Regions from separate parts of the Homo sapiens genome. Here region 2 is linked to region 1. The links are contacts of gene promoters, found by promoter capture Hi-C in blood cells and fetal thymus (Javierre and others, 2016). All regions are on one chromosome and are shown on one strand. The core of a region is centred on a gene start or on the middle of the fragment in contact, and the rest is flanking DNA. Distances in the headings are between cores, read along the strand shown. Region 1 holds the start of GTF2B (general transcription factor IIB). Region 2 has its middle 61 kb from the start of LRRC8B.

The links. The method cuts DNA at HindIII sites, captures the fragments that hold promoters and counts their contacts. A CHiCAGO score of 5 or more calls a contact.
Region 2: a contact is called between a fragment that was not itself captured here and the fragment with the promoter of GTF2B in region 1, in 1 of 17 cell types (activated CD4 T cells). The highest score is 6.6, in activated CD4 T cells.

Annotation. Positions count from the first base shown.
Region 1 is chr1:88,888,999-88,894,421 of GRCh38, forward strand. It overlaps GTF2B (general transcription factor IIB), which reads right to left and starts at 2,569. Exons shown (of 7, transcript NM_001514.6): 1 at 2,485-2,569. The coding sequence starts at 2,501. RefSeq lists an enhancer at 2,745-2,854. The HindIII fragment of the contact is 16,776 bases long and covers 1-5,423 here.
Region 2 is chr1:89,461,271-89,466,693 of GRCh38, forward strand. No RefSeq gene overlaps it. Among named protein-coding and RNA genes, the nearest start is that of LRRC8B, 61 kb to the right of the region's middle. The HindIII fragment of the contact is 6,077 bases long and covers 1-5,249 here.

The DNA of each region.
Region 1 (5,423 bases), core at 1,319-3,818:
CCCACTTTTAAAATGTGCTAACTTCATTAAAAAAAGGTAAAAGCAAGGTAGTGAATGGAGTTTAAATTAGGTCACTTTCGTGGGGGAAGAGAGGTTAGAACTATTCCTATACATTTGTTAAAGCATAAACACTAGGAAAACACCAAGAGACTAGTAATTATGGCTGATCCAGGGAGACTTAGATGGCTGGGAGCTAGGAAAGGAGGAAGACTACTTTTCATGGTTTTAGTCTATTGCAATTTTGCTTTTGGACCATTTGTATGTGTTACCTATCAAAATAAAAGTATGCTAAATTAGTAAACTTAATCAAATTACCCACAATACAGAAGAGGAACCATACAAATGGGGTGGTGAAGGTGGTAACAGAGAGAAACAATAGGGAGGAATAGAGAAACCACCACCACTGACATTAAAACGATTCGAGACTACTCAAGTACCAGATAATCCCAAACCCCATTTTATAGCTATCATTTATTGGGCATGGACTGTATTACTTGTGTTATACATTTATTATTGTCAATCTCCACAACAATCCTGCAAGAAAGGCACTATTTCACATTTAAAAAATTATGCTCAGAGAATGATTTGCCTGAAGTCATGGAACTAATAAGTGGCGGAGCTTACATTTGAACTCAGAACATTTGTACTCCTCTGTGAGGACACCAGCCAGTTTCATGGCCTAGTGACAATACACCTTCCTGAGGGAAAAACATGCAAAAGGTAGAAATATTATATTTAGGCTGGGCGCAGTGGCTCATGCCTGTTACCACAGCACTTTGGTAGGCCAAAGCCGGAGGACTGCTTGGACCCAGGAGTTCAGGACCAGCCTGGGCAATGTAACTAGGCCTTGTCTCCACAAAAATAAAAATTAATAAAATTTAAAAATAAAAAAATTAGCCAGGCACGTGGTGTGTACCTATGGTCCCAGCTACTCAGAAGGCTGAGGTGGGAGGATCACTTGAACTGGGGAGGTCATGGCTGCAGTGAGCCATGATCGTGCCACCTACACTTCAGCCCAGGCCTGTTCCATAAAATAAAAAATACTGCATTTAACTTTCTTTGTTGTCACTGATAGAAAAACTTGAGCAATAACTGCTATGATACATAAATTGCACATATCTAGAAAAAAATTTCAGACTTAAAAAGCCATGATAGAATTAAAAAAAAAAAAAGCCATGGTAGAATTTTAAGTCGTATTTGAGTGATCTGGGGAGCCCAAGTTTTCCATTTACCTACAAGGAGGCCTTACCCGACAGAACAACACCCAGATAGAATGACTGAGCATCCAATCCAAGAATCAGAATCAGTAAACAAGAGTGTCACTGGCTTTATGAGTTCTGTTCAAACAGTATATTAGCTAAAGCTGCCTCCCACCCCAAATTCCTTTTCTAATCATAAAATGTAAGTCTTGGCAGTTACCAGAAAAGGCTATTTTGTAAAAATGGCTTTCACTGTGAAATTAACCAATTCCACAGATGATAGCAGGGTCAGAAAAATAGTGCCAGAGTTCCAGAAGCTGTAGAATTAATTTGATACTTTCAACACAGGATTAGTTAACCAAAGGCCAGGTGTGGATAACAGGAAACAGGTTGTCTTAGACTCTACACTCTAACACGACTCTTGGAAAAGTCAACATTGGCATGACTCAGTTTACACTTATGCAAAAATACTAATATCTACCTCACAGTGGTAATGAGAGACATAATTAGGGTCTGCAAGCATTTTTCAGGTCACAAGATTAAAGGCTGTTTCTGAGGGTACTGCATGCATTTCCTGTAGATATGAGTACACTGCATTCTTAAATATATACTAAAAAGCGACCTCCCAGCACATATAACTAATTTTCTTTGGCAAGATTTTCTTCAGAAGTACACAGGCAACGATATTTGTAAACAAATCCTTTAGCAGGGAACTAATCAACTCTTCCGATGGCTCTAGCTTCCACTTCCGAGGCCCGCTGTGATGGTAACCAACCAGGTTCCATCTGGCTTACCAATGCTGACGTTCCCAACTTCCTAGCTGTCAGATCGATAGGAACCTGAAACTAACTGTTTCCCGTTCCTTTGAAAAGGAGAAATTACGGACCCTCGGGTTGTTTGGGCCGTAGATGAAAAAAACAAGCGGGGGGGGGGGCGCGGGGGAGGAGAGGAGGGAGGGTGGGAAGAAGAGAAAATAAAGGGAGATTGAAATATTGGGAAAAGATACGAGGGCAAGGACTGGGGACACAGTAGCCCACCAGGACCCACATAGGGTGATATCTACATAAGACTCCAGGGCAATAACGTCAACAGCTCGGTAACCCCTGCGACACCCTGACAGTCCTGCCGTCTGGAAGTGCCTTTGTCCCGGCCCGTCGGCCAGTCCCGCCGCTTCTCTCCCATACCCCTAGGCGCTCAGCCCTACGAGGCTGCCCGGAGGCCGCCTAAAAGCCGGCGGCGCTCGCGCCCGCCCCTCAGCTCGCCGGGCTCGGCGGGACATACTAACCGGCTGGTAGACGCCATCTTCACGGCGACTGCGGTGCCCGCAACAAGACACAACAGACACACCGAAAGCAGGAAGCGAATGTGGCGAAGAGACGCGCAGAGATGAGTTTTTATAGACGACTCACCCACGCAGTCGTAGCAGAGCAGGGCTACGGGTCGGGAGAAGGGCCAAGAACAGTGAGATCCCATACGTCACGTGCTTTGCGATTTCTTACGTTCTTACTCCGTTTCTGTAATTTGCTATGTTGCTAAGCGAGTCAACGTAACTACCTAGGAAAAGTCTCATGGGAACCCTGCAAAGGGGCTACAACAGAGCTACTCTCAATCTGACAGTTAAAACACAAAGAAAACCCTGGCTTCGTAGTGGTGCCAAAGCCTGCATCCCTAATAGTTTAACCACCCCTTCCTCTCCCACCTTCTCACGGCTACCTTCTCACGGCCACCACCTACCCCGCCCCCAGCCCCCCACCCCGCGTCAGGCACTCCCATTTGAGCCAGTTCTTACGTGCCCCAAGGGTGATTCTTTCTAAGAAATTTGAAATAAAAGGAGAAACTCACTTAGGTCATCCAGAACAGGTGTCTGTTCAGGATCTGTCATCAGCTAGCATGTTGTCTTCTTAGGCACGTCCTTTATACAGGTCATGTAAGTTTATATAGGTTATGGTATCTTGCCTTGCATACCCTTTTAGAATTGGCAGAAGATGAAACAAAACTACGTGAAACCAATGTGTACACAAGAGGCACGACGATATGGGCCATGCTCTGATCATTTTTTTTTCACGGCCTTTGTAACGTTGGCTGATAGCTACATATAGAAAACTTGCGAGAACATCTAGATATTGCAAAATATCCCTAGATTTATTAATTAGCCAAACTAACGTCAAAATTGTAATACCACTATTACTAACAACAATAACAGTTACCGGTGGAGAGTATTCACGTTCTTGGCGTTTTGAACAAAGAACTGGACACAACGCACAAACTAAGGAAAGAATGAAGGAATAAAGGCAGAGATTTATTGAAAACGAAAAGGTAATACCAGCTCAAGACTCCTTTTGCAGAATTTTCGGGGGTTTAAATACCCTCTAGAGGTTTCCCATTGGTTACATGGTGTACACCCTATGTAAATGAAGTAGTGGCTCCACAATCAGTCTGATTGGTTGTGGAAAGCAACCAATCAGAGGCTAAAGTGAAGTTACAAAGTTACACTCCTATGCAAGCGTCTGATTGGTTGCAGAAAGCAACGAATCAGAGATACTTTCAATTTCACATCTGCCACACGGCTAAAGTGTGTGTGTGTGTGTGTGTGTGTGTGTGTGTGGTTGTGTAGTGGGGAGGGGGTTGCAAAGGGAGTAACGTCTGGTTCTTTTGTTACTTAGGTGTGGAAAGTTGGGGTTTTCCTTTTTTTTTTTTTTTTTTGAGACGGAGTCTTGCTCTGTCGCCCAGGCTGGAGTGCAGTGGCGCGATCTGGGCTCACTGCAAGCTCCGCCTGCCAGGTTCACGCCATTCTCCTGCCTCAGCCTCCCGAGTAGCTGGGACTACAGGAGCCTGCCACCACGCCCGGCTAATTTTGTTTTTGTATTTTTAGTAGAGACGGGGTTTCACCCTGTTAGCCAGGATGGTCTTGATCTCCTGACCTCGTCATCCGCCCGCCTTGGCCTCCCAAAGTGCTGGGATTACAGGCGTGAGCCACCGCGCCCGGCCGGGGTTTTCCATTTGATTTAGTTCTAGGAAATCAGTGTGAATCTGCCTTAGGTTCCCTGCCTTCAGACAGTATTCTCCTGCGGCAACACTTTGCTGACAACTATTCTTGAAAATACGGGGATTGGTATTTTCATGGTGGTTTTCATGGGGCTGAGAACTTAGAAGATAATGACTGCTTCCTTCATCTGGGGATGGGATTTAAATGTAATGGAGCACTCACTGTTTTCTTGAGAAGGTGGGAGATACTAGCTTCCTTAGAAAGAAAAAGGGGTGCGAGAGGCAGGATTTTAGGAACTCAAATCTAGGTGGGAACCGGGGAGCATGATTTCTTTTTTCTTTCCCAATCCCAATCTTCTATTTTGTAATTCTGTAATTTTAAAAACTTGACTGTACTCTTGTGGGGGTTTTTTCCTCCCTCAATATTTTTGTCAAGTGCAACCAGGAAAGGGCTTGGGGGTGCTGCACCTCAGTCCAGTAGAGGTTTCATAGTAAAGCATCTTAACTTGGAGGAAGAGGAGGAATAAGACAACTGTGCATCTCTTAAGGATCCAGAACATGGACCTGCACCTAGTGGATTCATGGTAGGCATTCAATAATGTTTGTTGAAGGAAGAAATTGAAACCCTAGAAAAGGGAGGCAGCACTACTGGTTAAATTAACTCCTGCCCCACCTGGAGAGTCTCTTGTCTGTCATAAACTTGTAAGAATTTCTTTTGTATTAAAATAGAAGGCACCTTAGGTAAGCCATTCGTTTTCTTTTGTTAGTACAGCACTGGAAATTTACAAAGCATTTTAATCAACATAATCCCATTTAATATTTATTATTGATCTTGAGGTTAAAATACACACACACACACACACACACACACACACACACAGAGCTGGGGTTTTATCACTTGGGAACCAATAACCTAACTAGCATTCACCAAAACTTCTGGTTTGTATAATAATTGTTACTTAAATTAATTATGTAAATTAAAATGATTTAAAGCAATGGTTTAAATTAATTCATCTTTTTACTTAGAAAGTTATTCGAAAAGTTTATATCACTACTGTGAAATCTCAAGTTGATGTGCTATAGTTCATTTTAAGTATAAAATGTTTTACATGACTAATAAATGATTTAAAAATGCTTGTGACCCACCTGGCATCGTGAATCACGCCTGTAATCCCAGCACGTTGGGAGGCCGAGGCAGGTGGATCACCTGAGGTCAGGAGTTCAAGACCAGCCTGGCCA
Region 2 (5,423 bases), core at 961-3,460, 570 kb after region 1:
TGATGCTATAATGATGGATACCTGACATTATGCATTTCCCCATAGAATGCACAACACCAAGGGTAGCCCTATGCAAACTACGCACTTTGTGTGATAATGATGTGCCAATGGAGGTCCATAAATTGTCACACAAGTGCCACTCTAGAGGAGGATATGAATAGTGGGGGAGGTTATACTTGTGTGGGAGCAGTGGGTACATGGGAAATCTTGGTACCTTCTGCTCAGTACTGCTGTGAACCTAAAACTGCTCTAAAAATAAAGTTTATTAAAAAAAAAACAAAGATCATGTACTTACTGCTTCTGAACTGCCATATGCGATAAATGTAAAGGAAACGCTCTTAGAGTCCAAGAGGCCCAGATGTCTGAATATCCACTGATACAGAACCATCTATTTTGTCCTTCAAGGTACTCTAATTTCTTTTTCCTTTAAGGTACCTCCTTCCTTTACCTTTGCCCTTACACCCACACTCCCATCCCCAATTTGTACTCTGTCTTACATAACGTCATTCCTTTGAAGCCAGTGCTAGGTGACAGCTACCTAGGCTCATAAACTCATCTATGGCTTTAGGTGCTTTGCACTTTTCTACGGTTTTAACCATGAAAGTGACTGAGTATTCATTGGAAGGCTTTGGGTTTTTTCCAGTGAACTTATTTCAACACAGTCTTTCAGACTGCGTTGCCTTACAGCATAGACAGATGATGAAGGTGCTCCCTGCACTAATCTGCTGCTGTTATCCCATTAGCAAATGTTAGCTAAGCATTTACTCTGTGCTGGGTGTTGTGCTGCATGTTAGGAAGTCAAACAAGTAATACATGATCTCTTCCTTTAAAAAGGTTCCAGGTAACTAGGAAGTGACTAGAAGTTATTAAGCTCCACAGGTAACTTTCTAGGAATTTCGCCATAAGCAAGCAGTGTGTGTCTAAAATCTGCTGCAAAGTGTTATCATTCTCTTAATCCATGGTTGACACATGCATTCTTATCACCATTAAAACATTTTCAAAATGGCTGTTACCCCAACACACACTTTTACAGTTTTGTTAGTCCTTTTGCCCCCAGTGACTCTGTGGCCAGCCCTAGGCAGCACGGTTTTGTAGAGCATGCCCCAAATTCTGGGCTGAACTCAGCGTGACCCTTGCCTCATTTCTCCCATTGGCTCTTTCCAACTCCAGCATGCTTTGGATAGTTCAGTCCACACCTGGCAGAGACTAAGTACCGACTAATTGTTGACCTAAGATTTTTTCCCCCCAAGTTTAAGTTGAATCACTTTAAGTAAAATTTAACCAAACCAACCATCATATTCCTTAGTGTTGAACTGCTACAGTAATCAACTGATGCTTCTTCTATATTTACTAATTTCACATAATTGAGCATCTTCTGCAACTGGTTACTTTTCAGAAAGGCCAAATGAGACCATATAGGAAAGAATCTTTTTTATCTTGGGTGGGAAAGATCTTTTTAAGAAGACTCCAAAACAATTACACATCATAGAGGGAAAATCGTTGAATTTCTTTTCATTAAGGGAACCCTCAAATCCATAAAATACAGATGACTTGGCAAAGCTAGTTACAGCACCTAAAATTGATGTAATATCTACATCTGGGTATATGTAGAATATATAACATTATAATATATATATACACATATATATGTGATAAAGTTAGCAAAAGCCTGAGAGGTTTCAACAAGAAATTTTAAATGTATTAACCCAATAAAGAAGTAATATCTAGAACATTCAAGACATACCAACAAATTAACAAGCAACTAAAACAAAAAGCTAGTTAAGCCAATAATGAGCAAATAATTTATATCCATATAAATTATGCATACTATTTGTATCCATAGGATGGAAAAACCTGAAAACTAGTAAATATATAGTGCTCAACCCTACTAGTGTTAAAAAATTAAAAAATAAATCTGATACCACTTTGTAACTATCACCTGTAAAAAAAAAAAAAATCAGAGTCAGAAAACACTAAATGTCAGCAAACCAATGCTAAACAAGAACATTTGTTCTTCTGGTAGAAGAAGAAATGGTATAGTCTTTCTAGAGAGCAATCTGGCAATACTTGTACCATAAGCCTTCTTCCAACTGCTGAATGTATATCCCAGAGCAACTCTTTCCAACTTCTCTACAGGGACATGTAAATGCATAGGCATCTATGGCAGGGGATACTGAAGCACCCTAGATGACCATAGCCAGAGAGGAAAACTAACATGCTGGATGGACAAATCTTGAACAACACAAAAGTGAGTGGAAAAAAATAAGAAACATTAAATGTATTTTACATCCCATTTAATTAGAAACACACACGTATAAAATAATGCTATATGATTTTATATAAAATATGTACATTCAAAGACACATAGCAAGTGTGTTAAACAGGACTTATTGAAAAGGCAGGGGAAGAAATGGGAATGATAACTGGAGGGGAAAGATAAAAATATTAAAATTAAGGTAACAGTAAACAAAACTGGTCCCTTGCACAGATAAATATTGAGAAGTACACTGAGTTAGAAGCAAGGCTCAGCTTCAGTTGTGATAGCCTCATTTACTGAGACCTTGATCTGTACTAGTTATTGTACTAATCGCTTCACATATGTTATTTTAATCCTCACACAAAAACACGCACAGACATATAGAACTCATATTATTATTCCCATTTTACAGATGAAGAAGCAGAAACTCAGAGAAATTATATTTTTTGCCTAAGGTCAAACAGCTAGTAAGTGGTATAGCTGGGGTTTTAATGCAGGTCTACATGACTCTGAATCTCATACACTATATTATCTGCTATCTGTTCATATATTCAAGAAATAAGTGAAGGTACCAAAAATAAGTTCATTCTTTCTGACCGCATTCCCCAATCATCCATCATTGACCACTGTGGTTTCTTTGGTAGGCTGAATGATGCCCCTTAGATGTGCCCACATCCTGACCTCAAAAACCTCTGAATGTTTCCTTGTATGGTAAAAGAAACTTTGCAGGTGTGATCCAGTCAAGGATCTTGAGATGAGGGGCTTCTCCTACATTACTCAAGGAAGCACAATAAAGTCAAAAGGGTATTTACACGAAAGACATTGGAGAAGTCAGAGAGGAGTAGGAGACATGATGATGATGGAAGCAAAAGGTGGAAGTGATCCCAGGAAGGGGCCATGACCAAGGAGTGCAGGGGCCTCTAAGGGCTGAAAACGGCGAGGAAACTGATTTTTCCCTAGAGACTCCAGAAGAATCCAATGCCTTGATTTTAGCCCCATGAGACCCATTTTGGACTTCTGACCACCCTCCAGAATTGTAAGAGTTTATATTGTGTTCTTTAAACCACTAAATTTGTGGTAATTTGTTACAGTGGCAACAGGAAACTAATACACTTAGAAATCATTCAGATTCACTTCAAGATATTTCAAGCTGTCATAGGAGTAGTAGTTACATTTCCAACAGCGAACAATAGCTAAGTAATGCCAAATCCAGAACTAGAATCCAGATCTCTTGACCGCCTCAGTGCTAGGCTCTTTCCACTACACATAGCTGTCAACAAGTATAAGTCTCTGAAGTAATAGCTATAGAGAATTTAAAATCAAGTAAAATGTAGACATTAAAAGTGGACACCTTGTTTCCAAGGGAGCACTGTGGTTCTGTTACAGAGAATACCCCAAGATATACAAAGAAATCTTTCTGCACTTAAACTTCTATACTGGCTATTTGTGATGTAGAACAATTCAGGTTTGATTCACCTGCACTAGCAATGCTATCTACATATACGAATGTGTTCTTAATACAAATCACTTTTACAGGGCAAGGACAATTTTTAAAATGTATTATTGAATTTTGAAAATGTTAATAATGTTAAAAAAAATTACTGAATTTGAAATCAGAATGCAGTTCAACTCTCAACTCTGCCATTAGCTCTATGACCTGAAAAAGTCAGTTCACCTCTCTAGGTCAGATTACTTATCCATGGAATGGCCCGCATAGTCCATTACAGATCTCCTGTGCTAGACTAATGCAGGCAGTGCTCTCCTAAGGAGATGGTGCTGTCCCAATACAGACACTGGGCTGATTCTAGAAAGAGAAGCCTTGACATTCACCAAGTGCCTCCTGTGAGCTGTGCACCACAGCTTCACTTCTGTGGCTTTGGTCAATATTCACAATACACAAGGTTGCATTATGACACATATTTTACAGCTGAGGAGACACATACCCAGAGAGCTCAAGTAACACACTCAAATTCATGCAGCACATGCTAGTTACAACTAGTTCTGTCTGACTTGAAATGTGGTCTGTGACACTGTAATCACTTACCTAAAGATTAAATAAGAGTGACTCACACTCTGACAACACTTTTCAGGTTGCAGACACTTCCACACTCATTAGTTAATTTAAACCCATCAAGAACCCCATGTCAAAGCCAAGGAATATGAAAAACAGGATCAGATATATTTCAGGAACCTGTCTAAGGTAACGCAGGAAATGACAGAGACGGTGGAAGTTGAATTCAGGTCTCTCTGATGCCATGCCCTTTCCAGTATGCCTCAGCACCCTACTCTACCACCACTAAAGGGATCTCGGAAAAATCACTTAATATCTTTAAACTTCAACTCCCTTTACTAGAAGCTCTTAATTATAATACCTGCCCCTGGCATCATCCTGAGGGTTAGGGAACTCATAGAAAGTATTTTGCAAGTGTTTATGAACATACAAATGACAGGGTGTTTCAGCTTTACTTGAGCAATGACCATTTGTGTTATCCAAATTGGCTTCTTCTTTAAAAGTTTAGACAGAACTATCAAAACAAATTGGGGACTAAATACCTCTGTGATGTACACTTCTATAAGGCCTGGCACAGGATGAAGGCTCAATAAACGTGTGTTTTCTATTTTTGGTAAGCAAAGAGGCTTTAATCAATAGCTGTCCAGAATGACAATTGTAGCAAATCCTGATCATGGATAACAGCATCTAGAATAATAGCCAGTCCATCAACTCATGTTAAAACCACAAAACCACATCCCTGCTGTGCTAGGGAAGCATCCTTTTGTCCTGAATGAAGTTCAGTATAATATCGAAACTTCTGTGAGAAGGATAAATCCAGAACAATTAAAAATAAAAATTATTGTGTTAGGACAGGTCACACAAGTAGTTTTCCTGGTGATACCTCTGTGATACTGGTAATGAAGATATTATGTGGTTAGTAGACACATCATCAACCACAAAGAAAGAGCTGTGTGCCATAGCAAACCGGCCATACCACTAAGCTTCTACTACCTGAATGCCCCTATCGTGTGGAGTCACGTGGAAATGTAACATGGGTTCTTTTTTGTTTGAGACTGACCTGGGTTTTATAAATCATTAAATTTTCTTTCAGAGCAATTGGATTAACTTTTGTTGTAAGTAAAATGCAACTTCTTTTGGTTTGTTTAGAACAAT